2 separate regions of the Homo sapiens genome follow, and region 2 is linked to region 1. The links are contacts of gene promoters, found by promoter capture Hi-C in blood cells and fetal thymus (Javierre and others, 2016). All regions are on one chromosome and are shown on one strand. The core of a region is centred on a gene start or on the middle of the fragment in contact, and the rest is flanking DNA. Distances in the headings are between cores, read along the strand shown. Region 1 holds the start of S1PR5 (sphingosine-1-phosphate receptor 5). Region 2 holds the start of MAST1 (microtubule associated serine/threonine kinase 1).

Region 1 (4,776 bases), core at 1,406-3,905:
GCAGGAACATGGGAGCGTGGAAGCGCGGGTGGCGTCCGAGCACCAACAACACGGCTAGATTCTCTAGCACGATGAAGGCGCACACCGCCAGGCACACCACGGCGTCGGCGCGCAGGCCGGCACCCGGCTGGTAGCGCGCACCGCGGAGCTTGCCGGTGTAGTTGTAATGCAGGACGATGACCTCGCTCACCGGCGCCGGCCGCAGCAGCCCCGACTCCATGGGCCGCGCGCCCCAAGGCTGTTGGAGAGGCAAGATACGGTGTCAGGCCGCGGTCCCCGTAAGCACGCTCGCAGCAGCCGGCTAAGTCGTGGGAAAGGGGCCCTACCCACTGACCATCACCCCCTATACATGGTGTCCAAGGGGGAGTTCAGGATGGAGGGATAGAGTCCGTGGAGACAGACATACACACAAATAATATCACGAGGGAACAAGGTGACATAGTCCCAAAAAAAGGGACATTAATAACACATGAATGGCTGGGCGCGGTGGTTCACACATGGCTGGGCGCGGTGGCTCAGGCCTGTAATCCCCGCCTGTAATCCCCCCAGGCTCAGGCCTGAGGCAGTGGCTCAGGCCTGGGAGGCCAAGGGGGGCAGATCACGAGGTCAGGAGATCGAGACCATCCTGGCTAACACGGTGAACCCCTCCGTCTCTGCTAAAAACACAAAAAATTAGCCAGGCATGGTGGCACGTGCCTGTAGTCCCAGCTACTCCAGAGGCTGAGGCAGAAGAATCATTTGAACCCAGGAGGCGGAGGTTGCAGTGAGCCGAGATCGCATCACTGCACTCCAACCTAGGTGGCAGAGCGAGACTCTGTCTCAAAACACCCCCCCTCCCCACCAAACACACACACGGCTGGGTGTGGTGGCTCACTCCTGTAATTCCAGCACTTTGGGAGGCTGAGGCGGGAGGATTGTTTGAGGCCCAGGAGTTCGAGATTAGCCTGGACAACATAGGAGAACCCCGTTTCTACAAAAATTAGCCGGGACGTGTTGGTGTATGCCTATAGTCCAAGCTACTCAGTGGAGTCCCAGCTGAGGTGAGAGGATCACTTGAGCCCGCGGGGTCAAGGCTGCAGTCAGTGAGCATTGATTGTGCCACTGTACTCCAGCCAGGACAACAGAGCAAGACTTTGTCTCAAACACACACACACAAACACACAAGCAGGGAGTTCCAGAGACGTAACAGTAAACACACAGAACGCACACAAACGCAACACACACAGAAAGAGACACACAAATACAGCGACACACTACAAGGGCAAAACACACAGTCACACACTATCAGGGAAACTAAAAAATACATCATACAGGAACAGAGTGACGCAGGCAGAAAAACACAGCGACCAAAATTCAGTCACACGAATACAGGGTCTCCCACCCAGTGGCACAGGCCACAATTTCACAACCTCCACTCACACTAGCCTGGGGCCCAGTGCACCACACTCCACACTCTTGTCTCACTGCATACAAAGCTTTTTCCTGCCAAAACCCCCTCATCCACCCAAAACCCCATGAGAAAGTTGCTCCTTGGCCAGGCACAGTGGCTTTCGCCTGTAATCCCAGCACTTTGGGAGGCCGAGGTGGGAGTATCACTTGAGCCCAGGAGTTCGACACCAGCTTGGGCAACATACTAAGACTTCATCTCTACAAAAAAATTTAAAAATTAGCCAGGTGTGGTGTTATGCCCCTATAGTCCCAGCTACTCAAGAGACTGAGGCGGGAGGATCACTTGAGCCTGGGAGGCCGAGGCTGCAGTGAGCCATGATCGCACCCCTGCTCTCCAGCCTGGGTGACAAGAGAGAAACTCCGTCTCAAAAAAAAAAAAAAAAAAAAAAGTTGATCCTATTCACTCATTTTACTAAGGCAGAGCCTGAGGACAGGAGAGAGAATCCACAAGAGGCAAACAGACTCTTACAGAGGGGCACACATGTCATTAAACTGTAATAACACTCCTCACCTGCCTCTGTGACCTTATTAATCCCCACTTCCTTTAGTCCTAATTTACAGATGAGAAAACTGAAGCTCAAAAGAAATGCTTCGTATCGAAGCAGGCGCAAAGGTTTCCATGCTCCCACACAAACATCCATGCACAAATAGTCCCCATGCAAGTCCAGATGAGAAAGCCAAGGCCTGGGGAGGGGAATGGATCTCTTTTGCACAAGGCAGGGATGCGGACATCCCAGAGAGCTTCAGTCACACACAGAGAATCAAGGCAGGCAAACATAGACAGGAAGTCGCTGGCTCACCCATGCTGGAGGTGGGGAGCCCAAATACAGGGAGACAGGGTTACACATGCTCTGAGGGGGAGGCCAACCCCATCCGCCCAGCTTGCCCGGCAGCAGGACTGAAGTATGGAAACTTGCAGTGGCCCGGCCAGGAGGGGGTGGCCAGGGGATTCCAGCCACCTTCACCCCGTATCCCAGGTCCTGCACCCAGCTGGGGAGCCCCCAGCTTCCCCCTCCCCAGAGGCCTCCAGGAAAAGTTCGGAGAACTCCCTGCAAGGAGTGGTGCGCCTTTTTAGACCGGGAAAGTGGCCGCCAGGGCGACCCCCTCCGGGTCAGGCCCAGCCCAGCGCCCCCAAAGGTCCAGTGCAGTCCACTCACTCTGCGCCCTGGTCGTGCGCCACCCGCAGTCGCGCTGCCTTGAACCGAGTGAGCGGACGCCGCTCCGGGGGCGGGGCTGGAGCTGGCAGGCGAGGGGGCGGGCCAGCGACGCAAAGGGCCGGCGGTCGCCAGCAGTTGCCCCCTCCCCTTGGGTCCCGGGCACTCAGCCCATGGCTGCCAGCCTGTGCCACTCGCCGCGGCACCGGAGCGCGCCCCGGCGGCGACTGGCACAGGCGAGCCCTCAGCTGCCCCCTCCGGGCCTGGGCTGTCCTCCCAGGGACGCTCCATCGCGGTGGGAGGACTCGGAGAGGCGGGAAAGGGAGGGTTCTGCAGCAGGGCGGTCGCAGCCTGAGCCTCTTCTCCCCAGCGGAGGGGTCTCCTCTGTCCTGGGTGTCCGGGCACTGCGCCCTCCCATTGCCCACCCACCTGTGAACTGAGCTTCCTGGGCTGCACCCCAAGGACGCCCCGTCGATGATTCGGAGGGGTCTTCAGTGGGTTGCTTAGCAGGAGTCTTCAGTGGGGGCCACCTTAGCCTGAGTCCTCTCCCACCAGCAGATAGGTTCCCGCTGCTCCCGGGCACAGGCCCCTCCCAATTTCCCGCTCCCGCCCCCGGCTCAGGGCGAGTGGGGGTGGGGCGGGCCCGGGCAGGATTGTGATGGGAACTTGCCGCTCCTCAGATAAGGAGGGTCTCTCCTGTCCCACCCCCTGGATTCCGTGTTCCCCCGACCGATTCTCTCCCACCCTTATCGCTGACGACAAAGTGATTTACTCATTAATGGTGTTTCTGGGCTGTGTCCTTAGCAGACAGTAAACCCCAGCAATGTAAGAATTTCTTTTTTTTTTTTTTTTTTGAGACAAGATCTTGCTCTGTGGCCCAGAGTGGAGTGCAGTGGCAACATCATAAGTCACTGCAGTCTCGACCTCCGCGGCTCAAGCCATCCTCCCATCTCAGCCGGCTGAACGTAGCTGCTGGGACTCCAGTCGCTTGCAACCATGCCCAGATAATGAATGAGTGTCTCCCTCACTTCCTCTGTATCTCTCTCAGGAGGATCTCAGAGTCTCTCGCCTGCGTGTCTCTTTGTCTCTGCGTGTCTCTTTGCCTCTGCGTGTCTCTTTGTTGCTGTCTGTGATGCTCTCCCACGCCTCTCCCAGGCCACTGCTCCTCCAACGACCAGTCCCGCTGGCCCCGAAACGCCCCCACCCCGACTTCCCAGGAACTTCCAGACGGTCCCAGCTCTTCCACCCTCAGATTCAGGAAGGGAGGCTGGGTCCCGCTGCTGCGACCTTCTCCAGGACCGTGCCCTTTGCCCCTGATGCTTCAGGCCCTGCTGGCCGCGGGTGGGGTGAGGGCGCCCCAGGAGAGATGAGCCAGAGGCTGAGAATAAGTGTGGATCCGGGATACCCTCGTGGGAGGAAACTCAGGGGGCACTCAGGCCGGGTCAGGCCCCCATGTAGCCCCTTGGGGATCCCAGCCCTCCTGCCCCCGCTGTTCCCTCGGTGGGCAGAACCTTTCCTGCCTGCTCTGCTCAAAGACACAGCCAATGGGACCCGCAGGGTGGGACGGTGTTAACCCTTCAGTGCCAGGTTCCCCAGTCCTGTGGACCAAGCCAACTCCAATGGTGCCCACTGGGATGACCCCTGAAGATCTCCCAGCATGGCTGTGGCTGGCACCCAGTAGGTGCTCAATAAATGACCTCCTTCTGTAAAGGGGAAGCCGCGCCCCAGGGTGGGGAGGTGGCTGCTTCACACCTCCCAGGCGCCAATCTCACTTCTCTCGAAAATGGGGCTCTTCCGGCTGCGGGTCCCGGGCTCAGCAACCTGCCTCTCCAGCTGCCTCCCTGAACTTCTTTCCCACGAATTGGGACCCTGGGGACTCAGGCTCCAGGATCTCGACAGATGTTGGGAGTCCCATCCCTAGCTGCCACTCCACACTCCTGGCCACAGTTCTTAAAACTCAGATCACATTTCTTTTCTGCTCCAAACCCTCCCGTGGCTCCCTGTGTTTCTCAGAGTAAGTGATCAAGTCCTCAGTGAGGACCCCGCAAGGACAAGGCCATATGCCGTCCTGATTTGTCTCTTTCTGTTACTTCTGTGCCTCTCTCTGCTCCACTCTGCTTCTGCCTCCCGGGCTCCTCCGAGTTCCACACACACTTCAAGACTTTTGAACTTG
Region 2 (4,776 bases), core at 918-3,417, 2.3 Mb after region 1:
CCCGGATCTGGACACCCTGGGCTCTGTGGCCAGAAAATCCAGGTCTTGATTTCGCTTGGGCCATTGCAGACACGCAGCCAGGTCGACTGGTCCTCATTCACTCCGGTCATGCAAAGACAGAGGGAAAACCTGGTTTGGATTATCGGTCACCCGTGGCTCGGGAGGGCAGGGCTGCCCTTTGGCCCCGCCTATATGTTTGTCCGTTGTACAACGGGGTGGGAGGACGCTGTGGCCCATCCTCTGTCATGCAGCATGTCCCTCCTTAATAACGCCTGTTCTCCAGACTTAGTATTTATTGAGCACTTGCTATGTGCTAGGCACCATGCTAAGGGGCTAGGCATCTGCATCAACTCCTAAGATCCTCAAGGAGACACGGGACTATTGGAAGGTCATTTGCCAAGGTCATAAAAAGCAGAATTGAGATTTGAACCTAGGCTTTTTGCTTTTAGAGATCCTAGAAATGTCTAGGACATCCCTCATTTTCCTTTTGTTGGAGTCCCCTCCAAAGGCCTTTTGAAACTCTCCCCCAAATCTTTCCACCTGCAGCCCCACTCAGTTTCCTTCCTTCCACCTCACCCTGTGGATAGAAAACTGGCTGGCAGGTGTTGCCCCTTGTACCCCATTCCTTTCCTCAGAAAAAAGCCAAGACCCCATATCTCCTGATCCCTACAGTGACTTCCTAAGAGCTTGACAAATGGAAGGTGACCTTCTTCAAATGCAGACACATAAAGTTAATACTCACTAATTATTATTATTGTCATTATAAAAAATGACTATGCGGCCATCACCTGAATTTCCATTTTTATTTTTTTATTTTTTAAACTTTTTATTATTTATTTATTTATTGTTAATTGAGAGGGTGTCTTACTCCAGCAGTGGTGCAATCATAGTTCACTATAACCTCGACCTCCTGAGCTCAAGAGATTCTCCCACCTCAGCCTCCGTGGTTCCCATTTTAAATCTCAGTTGTGAGTCACTCTACTTACCTACCCCCCACCCCCTACCCCAACTCTATGACTCTAGCTGGGAGTCAGATAGATCTGCTGAGGTGTAGATGAGTCATTCATTCTTTCAACCTTTCATTCATTCAACCTTTCATTCATTCATTGAGTACGCTAAGCTTATTCCCGCCTCCAGGCCTTTGCCCTTGCAGTTCCCTCCACCTGGAATGCTCTCTCCACAGATCCTCCCATGGCTGGCTCTTATCTTTCAGCAACCAGCTTAAAAGTCACCTCCACAGAGCAGCCCTGTCTGACAATGTGTCTCCATCCTAGCCATTGTCCATCACATCACCCTGTTTAATTTATTCATAAGACTAATTATTGTCTAAAATGATTTCGTTCACTTCTACACTAATCTTGTTTAATGTCCCCTTTACCCTATAAATACTAGTCCCAAAAGGCCAGAAACTTTTTTTTTTTTCTCCTTGAGACAGAGAGTCTTGCTGTGTTGCCCACGCTGGTGTTTCCTTGGACTCAAGCGATTCTCCTGCCTCAACCTCCCAAGTAGCTGGGACTAGAGGTGCACACCACCACACCGGACTTGTAATTTATTCACTACTGTGTCCCTAGTGCCTAGGATTGGGTCAGCATACAGTAGGTGCTCAAGACATATTTTTCAAATAATGATTCCTATTTCATTTGCACAAACACACGCTGATATGCCAACTCACTTGCCTTTATATGGCGCCCCGCCTGTGTACGTGGGCCTCTGTTGGTCTCTGAGGGTCAGGAGAGGAATCACCCAGGGATCCTCTCCCCCAAGAAACTTGGCCCGCAGTGCATGGCCAAGGGTGAAAGTGACAGTGCTGAAGAGGGGCCTGTCTTACCCTGCTTCTGCTCCTCCAGGGAGTTGATAATGCTTGTGGGCAGCAACGGCAGGTCCACGCTGACCTTCATCGTTTTGCCCCTTTGCCTTCCAGAAGGATTTGCCCCTGCCCCGGAAAAGCAGCAGGTGAGCCTGGGGAGAGACGTGGCGGGGGCTGGCCGCCCCTTCTCCCGCCGGGGTGGGGGCGCCAGGCGAGTGCGCGGGCGGGGCCTGGCTCGCCGGCACGCAGCAGCGCCCCCTCCCGGCCGGCTGCAGCCGCAGGGCCCTCCCCTTCCCTGCCCTCCCCTGCCCGCTGCGGCGGCTGCAGCCTCCGCCCCGCGCGCTTGCTCCCCGCGCCGCCGCCGCCGCCGCCTCCGCCGCTGCTGCCGCACCTGCCACCATGTCGCCGCCGCCGGGTCATGTCTGACTCTCTCTGGACCGCGCTTTCTAATTTCTCGATGCCCTCCTTCCCCGGCGGCAGTATGTTCCGCCGCACCAAGAGGTAGACCCCCGATCCCCTAGACATTGTCCCGGCCCTCCCCGCAAAAGCCGCCGCTCCGGGTACTGCTGCAGGGCGGGGCCCGGGATGCTGCGCCCGGTCCAGCTGCGCCAGAGGTGCCCCAGCTGCGCCTTCCCGCCGGGGTTGGGGTTGAATGGGGGGTGGTGTGGGCCGAGTCTGGGGGGCTTGCACGCTGGAGAGGACGGCCGCGGGGGGAGGGGGCTGCGCCACTGGGGGTTTGTGGCGCCTTTGTCTGCTGGCGCTGCGGGCTCCAACAGCCTGGTGGGGGTAGAGGAAGAAGGGGAGGCTGGGGGGCTTGGCACCCTCAGAACAATAGCCGCAGCCTGGCCTCCCCCCACCCCCATGCCGCGTGCTCCTGGACGCGCTAATATGCTCAGTCACTGCGGCTGTGGGTGAGGGGACGGACGGAGGGGCTTGGGGCTCCCTCTTCGGGAGCTGGATGCTGAGGGGTAGAAAAAAGGGGGGGTTTATCATAACACAACCCCCCCCCCCGAACACAGCCTTACACTGAAAATAGTGACACACAGCGTCACACAGGACATGATGTCACACACATACACACAACAGCCCTAGTGGCCCAGATACACTGGGAGGTGCCACACATACCTAGCCTTGCAGCTGCCACAGGTCAGAACCATGCACAGACACACAGGGGCACCACGTCGTGTACACCTAGTAAGATGTCACTTACATGGCGATCCACACACACACAGTTATGTCATCCAAGATGCAAACATGTGTTTCAATATCCCATCCATGCATCCAAGAATGTCACAACACACGATGTCATATCTAGGTATCTCACATACTATGTCACACTGACATCAGGATAAACAGATGTAGGGATCTTGCAGAGACAGAACCACGCAAAATCACATGTTATCACATTGCAAGACTCACCTAGAGAATGTCAAATGTGGTGACATGTTTGGACACAGTGTCACAAGATGTTAAATTCACACAATAGATGCTACATACACATGGACAAGCATGGTGAATGTCACACCCAGACGGAAGGACAGTATCGGACACAGACTCAGAATGCCACACAAAGACATAGATACATGTAGGGGGGATCATGCATCCTGGCCAGGCATGGTGGCAGGCACCTGTAGTCCCAGCTACTCAGGAGGGTGAGGTGAGGCGGGAGGATTGCTTGAGCCCAGGAGTTTGAGGCTGCAGTGAGCCACTGCACACTGCACTCCAGCCGGGCGACAGAGCGAGACATTGATTTAAAAGAAAAAAAATAATAATAATACAACCTGCCTGTGTTACAGCACACATTGTTATGGACAAGTGGCATTTCACACTGTGTCACATAGACACACAAATGCTCAAATTGTATCACACAAGATAAACCCACGTTGTGTCACACGTATCACACTAGAATGCATTCAGCGTCACACATTGTTGAATTCATACAGTGGATACCACACGTGGATACCTACAGTGAATGTCACGCATAGACTGAGACACGCTCAGTATCACCAATGGTGTCACCTAGACACAGTGACTATCACACCATGACAGACACTGCCCTACACATAATCCATACTGAGAGTTTCTCACACACATGTCATATGCACATCCCCTGCCGTACACAGTCCTGCCGAGGCCTGCACCACCTTTCTTCGAGAAACCCTCCCAGGGAGCCTCCAAACACACATGGATGGGAGATAGGCGGGGATCTGAGACAGGAGGTCAGCTGGTGGGGCTCAAGAACTCACTGGGCTGCGGCCCGGCCCGGCCCCCCTGCCTTACCTTCCCCGCAGCTGCCGCACCAGTAATCGGAAAAGCCTCATCCTGACCAGCACTTCACCCACGCTACCGAGACCCCACTCCCCGCTGCCAGGTCACCTAGGTGAGGCCAGTGGTAGAGACTTGGTGGGTGCAGACTGGCCTACAGTAGGCGGGGCCTCAGGCGAGGAAGCGTGGTCATGCTACAGAAGGGGCGCAGTTTGAATGGAGGCGAACCAGTTTGGATAAGGGGCGGGGCCATGCTTGTGTGGGTGTGGTCAGTCGCAGAGGGACGGTCATTGGGGGGCGGAGACTCAGGTGGGCGGAGACTCAGGTGGGACGGACAGAAAGGAGGAGTCGTACCTGAGGGGCGGGGCCATCCCAGATGAAGCCAGAATCGTCTTGGAAGGGGCCAGGCTGACTCGGCAACGAAAAAATTTAGAGAGGCGGGGCCACAGGCGAAGGGGCGTGGTCTCCCCATAATAGGCGGGACTAGACTAAAGACAGGACATGCTGCTGTTTGCACGCCGCTTTAGGGAACGAGAGACCTGACAGGATTTGCCCCCTCTTTCTCTCATAGGCAGCAGTCCCCTGGACAGCCCCCGAAACTTCTCCCCCAACACCCCCGCCCACTTCTCGTTTGCCTCCTCCCGAAGGTGAGTCCCTCCCCTCCAGGGCCCCAGAACCCTGGGCAGACCCTCCCCAACCACTGT

Evidence for each region. Contacts are between HindIII fragments. The CHiCAGO score rates a contact against its expected background, and 5 or more counts as called.
Region 2: a contact is called between the fragment with the promoter of MAST1 here and the fragment with the promoter of S1PR5 in region 1, in 1 of 17 cell types (total CD4 T cells). The highest score is 6.1, in total CD4 T cells.

The regions. Positions count from the first base shown.
Region 1 is chr19:10,514,792-10,519,567 of GRCh38, forward strand. It overlaps S1PR5 (sphingosine-1-phosphate receptor 5), which reads right to left and starts at 2,656. Exons shown (of 2, transcript NM_030760.5): 1 at 2,607-2,656; 2 at 1-238. The coding sequence starts at 220. RefSeq lists enhancers at 1-539, 540-1,133, 4,001-4,563. The HindIII fragment of the contact is 9,669 bases long and covers 1,474-4,776 here.
Region 2 is chr19:12,836,348-12,841,123 of GRCh38, forward strand. It overlaps MAST1 (microtubule associated serine/threonine kinase 1), which reads left to right and starts at 2,168. Exons shown (of 26, transcript NM_014975.3): 1 at 2,168-2,308; 2 at 4,099-4,187; 3 at 4,644-4,719. The coding sequence starts at 2,226. RefSeq lists silencers at 1,781-1,964, 1,969-2,148, 2,199-2,248 and an enhancer at 4,155-4,214. The HindIII fragment of the contact is 9,607 bases long and covers 1,119-4,776 here.